Regions from separate parts of the Homo sapiens genome. Here region 1 is linked to region 2. The links are contacts of gene promoters, found by promoter capture Hi-C in blood cells and fetal thymus (Javierre and others, 2016). All regions are on one chromosome and are shown on one strand. The core of a region is centred on a gene start or on the middle of the fragment in contact, and the rest is flanking DNA. Distances in the headings are between cores, read along the strand shown. Region 1 has its middle 320 kb from the start of ARAP2. Region 2 holds the start of PCDH7 (protocadherin 7).

Evidence for each region. The method cuts DNA at HindIII sites, captures the fragments that hold promoters and counts their contacts. A CHiCAGO score of 5 or more calls a contact.
Region 1: a fragment that was not itself captured here is called in contact with the fragment with the promoter of PCDH7 in region 2 in 1 of 17 cell types (M2 macrophages); the score reaches 5.3 in M2 macrophages.

Annotation. Positions count from the first base shown.
Region 1 is chr4:35,927,161-35,929,860 of GRCh38, reverse strand. No RefSeq gene overlaps it. Among named protein-coding and RNA genes, the nearest start is that of ARAP2, 320 kb to the left of the region's middle. The HindIII fragment of the contact is 5,644 bases long and covers 1-2,700 here.
Region 2 is chr4:30,719,002-30,721,701 of GRCh38, reverse strand. PCDH7 (protocadherin 7) reads right to left here and starts at 1,333. Exons shown (of 3, transcript NM_001173523.2): 1 at 1-1,333. The coding sequence starts at 279. It overlaps LOC124900844, which reads left to right and starts at 2,581. Exons shown (of 1, transcript XM_047416545.1): 1 at 2,581-2,700. RefSeq lists an enhancer at 1-524. The HindIII fragment of the contact is 9,617 bases long and covers 1-2,700 here.

The DNA.
Region 1 (2,700 bases), core at 2-2,501, 5.2 Mb before region 2:
TTAAAAAATATTTCCTTCTAGTTTACATTTTCCGAAAGCAAATTGAGAAAGCCAAATACACACACATACACATGCACACAAACACAACTTTTAAACAGCTATGATGTGCTTTAAGAAAAAGACAAGTCATACCATACACACACACAATTGCCCTAGAAGAAGCCTTTTGATTGAAAAGAAAACATTTTTAACTGCATCTTCAGGGTCAACAGATAGAAATAATACTTTTGTGAGAGAAAAGCTGAGTACAAGAGGCTACTTCAGAGAAGAATCGTCACTTTTCTTTTTCTTCATCGTCTAGATGGAGAATATAAATTCTTCAGTTCATTTGTTCTTCTTAGTCCAGTTAATGTTGTTAATAGAGTGAAATCTCCAAGAAAATCACAGTCTAAATATATATGAAGGTTTAGAAACTAATGAATAACTTTTGAGTATGCTCTGATAAAAATTGATCACATCCGATAGCCTGAGTTTCTATGCTCTCTAGGGCTTTTTGAAGTTCTCTTTAACATAGAGTTCTTCTCTTTGGCTTCTCACACACTTGTTTTCTACTTTTCTTTCCATGGCTTTAAAAAACAACATATCCTTTTCCTGTTATCTTTCTCTCCGCTTTCCTGTGAAAATAAGTGAGATACACTTCTCCCACCCATGTTATTTTCATTTAATTCCCAACTAAATTTTTTCCAATGTATGGACAGAAAAAAATGTCATGCTCTAGCAATAAACCACAGGAGAGTGATTTGTAAATTTCTCTAAGGCTCCAATCTTAGCCTCCTCTCCTATGATATACAAATAAGTGTAATATCTGCTTATCTTCTTCAAGGTTTGGGAAAGAATGGAACATGATCAGCTTCATATATGGGGGAAGTATGAATGTTAGTTATGTACATTTTCCTTAGTATCCTGGTTTTACATAAAAAAGGTTTGAAGTAAAGTACATGTTGACTTCATCACATTAATTTCTCTAATAACATTTGTCATTTTACTTATTTGTTTCATATGTTCAGGATATACTTTAATGAAAAGCAAAAAATGTCACGTTAAAGATTGCCAACTCTCTAGTCAGTGATGTCAAACTTTAATATGAGTGACGATTTTCTGAGATACCTGTTAAAAGTAGGTTCTTAGGTCCAGCTTGCAAAACTTTTTTATGGAGTAATTCCAGGTAGTATCAAGGTACACGCATTTTTAACAAGGTCCCCAGGTGATCTCTAGGCCATCTAGGAACCCCACTTTGACTAAATGCTGCTTGAATCTTGGTCTATTGAACTCTGCCAGTGTTGTTTTAGTCCATGTGCTTTGGAATCAATGGGGCCAGAGTTTGAAACCCTGCTTCATCACCTTCTATCTGAATAACTCAGGCGGATTGCTGAACTTCTCTGAGTCTCTTTGTCTGTATTAGTTTCCTAGGGTTGCCATTACAAACTTCCACAAATTGGGTGGACTTGAAACAAGAGAAGTGTACTCTTTCCCAGTTCTGGAGGCTAGAAGTCTGAAATCAATGTGTCAGCAGGACCATGTTCCCTCTGAAGGCTCTCTCCTTGCCTCCTCTAGCTTCCAGTGGCTCTGGGCAGTCCTTGGCGTTCCTCGGCTTGTAGCTGCATCACTCCAGTCTCTGCCTTCGTCTTCTCATGGCTTTCTTCTCTCCGTCTGTCTCCTTTTTTTATATGTATGTGTGCCCTCTCCTCTTCTGATGCTTACACCAGTCATTAGATTTAGCGTCCATCCTCATCTAGTGTAATCTCATTTTAATTACATCTGCAAATACCTTATTTCCAAAAATGGTTACATTGTAAGGGTCTGGTTGGATAAGAATATTGCGGGACACTATTCAGTACACTACAGTGTCCCTGCATTAAGAAGAATCATTATGATAGCATTTTGAAGCATCTAGTTAGTACCTGGTAGTAGATGCTCAGTAAATAATAGCTTTTCTTTCTTTGTGAGTATAGCTTAACCATTGGGTCTCAAAAACAAGTCTGCAGGCAAGGAATAACTGCATGAGATTCTCTATGGGAGCTTTTGAAAAATATAGATTCTAGGTATTTCTTGTGGGTTACTGCTATTCAACAAACCTGGAGTGAGGCCCAAGAAGCTGTATTTTTTAAAGGTTAGCCAGGTTATTCTGATATACATCTAGGCTCAGGAATTTTTTTTTTTTTAAGTCTGAGTATCTCATTGTATTGCTCAGGATGGAATGGAACAATTTATTTGACTAAGAATTTATATTTCATTCATAGAGCTGGAACTCAAAGGTATCTCATTTGCAAAAAAATTGCATAAAATTCTAAATATGTACTTCTTATAACCTACATTTGTCTACTAAAAGATGATGATAAAGTTCAATCAAAATTTTAAAGAGATGCAAAGGCTGTACACAGTTGTAATACTTGGGAATAGAATCTTACCATTCTGATTCCAGTTTCAAATTTCAAGGAAAGTCTTTCTTTTCTTGATTATGGGCTTAAATAAAACTAAATATGAATAGAAGAAAATTATAATAAGGGCCAAATATTATGAGTTTCACTTTCTCAAATCATTGTTTTCTTCTGCAAGTTCTGGCCATTTTTCATTGAGCTAATGAAGCCTCATATTTATTTCTTCCATCTCCCTTCTACTGAAGTCATTTTTACTAATGTTAAATGTCTTCTTTAGAGTCTCAGTAGTTTAAAATTTGCTTGTCTCTGGGAAGTCTCCATT
Region 2 (2,700 bases), core at 84-2,583:
GCGGTCGATGCGCCGCTCGCTCGTGCTCAGCTCGCCAGTGAGGTTGTCGATCTTCAGGTACTCGGAACCGGACTCCAGGCTGAAAGTCACCTCACCCGATCCGGTCACGATGCCCAGGTCTGAAGCCACGTTGCCGATGCGGACGTCGGCGGGGCCCTCCTCGGCCAGCCGGTACCGGAGGAGCTGCTTGGCGGCCGCCAGGCTGAGCGAGAGCGGCAGGAGGAGGCAGCAGCCCAAGCACCAGCCGCGCGCCCATCCCGCGGTCCGCATCCTCAGCATCTTCTCCTGCTGCTGCTGCTACTGCTCCTTCTAACCACAGCCCCCTCGGCGCCCCCCTCCTCCGGGGCCGGCCGCCTGCCCTCCCCCGAGTCCTCTCCCCTCTCCCGGAAAGGAAGGAGCGAGAGGGAGGGGAGGGAGGGGGCAAAAGCGGCGTGGAGAGTTGGCCGGGAATGGGGGTGGGAGGGCAGCGATAGATGCTTCTTTTTTTCCTCCTGCTTCTTCCGAAAGTTATTGTTTCATAATTCATGCAATGGGTGCTAATCGCCCGCTCGCCTGCCGCCGTTCAGTCGCAGTACTCACAGTTCACGGGACACTGCGCGCCGCGGGTTCGGCGCTCCCCCAACCCAGAGTCATCCCCTCAGCGGGCGGAGAATCCCCGGCTCTAGTCCCCGCTCTGTCGGAAGGGGCCAGAACCGCTCCGGCAGACGGGCAGTGGGGCTGGGAAGAGGTGGGGAATGAGCCTGCAGCCTCCCCCGCCTGCCAGCCCGCTGGTCTTTGCTGCTACTCGAGTTGAGTCCAATTCACGTTCCAGGCACTCACTCCAAACCCAGGCTCTGCTCCGGCTCCGGCCACCCAGACAAACGTGAGTCGCTTCCTGCACCAGGCGCTGGGGCCAGCAACAAGCCAGTCTCAACTCCGACTCTGCTCATGCAGCGGGGGAGCCAGTCAACAGATCGAGAATGAAAAATCCCCCGGCACGTCGCTTCGGGCACGGTGCAGGGGAGACTACTCGCGTCACAGAGCGGTCAGTGTCAGGGTCCCCCCGGCGCGCCAAAGAGAAGCCCGAGCCATCTTCAGAGACGCCCAGAGTCAGTCCCTTCTCACCCCGGAGAGCGCGGGTTTCTCTTTTTTCTTAACAACTCTGCGCAAGGTCATTAGTCACGAAGCAGCCGCCTGAAACCGCAGCAGCCTTTCGCCCACGGGGGCGAAGGCTGAGCAGTGCGCACCGTGCGGTGCCCAAGTTTGGGTTCGCAGCCGCAGAGTCCGTGCCTTTTCTCACCTGCATTCGGCCCGCATGTCGGAGCAGTGGGATCTGCAGCGCTGTGCGCGATTCAGGGAGGAGATTGCAGCCTCTCTCTCCCCGCTCTCTCTCGATCCCTCCCCTCCCTCCCTCCCTTTCTCTCTCCTCCCTCCTCTCTCTCCTCCCTCCTCTCCTTTCCCCTTTCCCCCTCTCCCACTCGCTCTCTTGCACGCTCTCTCTCCTTCCCAATGCAGGGAACTCAAGCTGAACTTGATCCCTTTGCAGTTCAAAGGTGAGCAAACCAGGCTCGGAGCACAGGCGACGTTAGCCGGCGAAAGCGCACGGCCGGGCGTCCCCAACGGCAATTAACAAAGATGCCCAATTCTGTCTGGATTTCCGAAGAAAAGCCAAAGGCTTTCGGGCGGGGGTGGAGGGGGAGGTGGAGTCAGAGACAGCTGCCAAGTAGCTTAAAAAAAAAAATCCAGTTTGCCAAGGGGAGAAAAAGTGTCAGTCGGTTGTGGCCTCGGAAGTGCCCTGGCACGGCTGGTGAATTCCGCAGTTGTCTCGTCCCTTTTCGCGTCTGGGAGAGTCTGGTGCGGGCGCTCCCGCCGCCCCTCGGGCTGCAGCGGCTCGGAGACACTGAACCGCTAGTGGGAATCTCCCGTTCGCTACCCGCGAGCAGGAAACCCGCAAGTTGCCCAAAGTGGTGGTTGCTGCTGGGTGCTCGCTCGCTCACGGATCAGGCTTGTCCCTGACGCTGCTGCTGCAGCGGCGGCGGCAGTAGCAGCCGAGCCGCCGAAACTACACACTAGGAGAGAGCGAGGGAGGAGGGCCCGGGATAAGGAGGCGGGAGGGAGCGTCAGCCAGCCGCCGCGCTCGGGAAAGCCCAGCCTCAGCTCCAGGGGCCGCTCAAAGTGTGCCCAATCCCAGCCAGTCCTCTTTAAGCCAAAGCCCAGTCCCCCTCCCTAGCGAGTACCGCCGTCTTCTCTGGGGGACTTGTTTTCCCTCCCTCGGGCTGGTAAATTTCCTCCTCCCTTGACTAATGCCCAGTTCACGCGTGAGAGCTTTCGGAGCTGGTGTCAGGATAGGTTTCTCCTTCTCCCTCCCTCTCAGACGACGTCCTCCTCCCCCCGGAAAGTGTCTCCGGTTCGCGATTTAGGATCTTGGTTAGGACATGGTTATCGGGGTCCTGGGGAACCTACGAGCGCCCAGAAAGCCACTCTGTTCTGAAAAACCATGACGGGCTGCAGTAGTGAAGAGAGAACATCAAACTCCAGAGAGCTGGAGAAAGATCCTTTTTTGGGAGCTCAGACTTTGGATGGTTGCGGGGGGCAGGGGCGGCGGTGGGTGGAGGGTGAAGGATGTCTGTCTTTGTTTAAATGCTTGACATTCCTGTCGTCGTGCTTGCTTGCGGGGGTAGACCGTGTGTGCGCGCCTGGGGAATAAACACATGTTGGAAA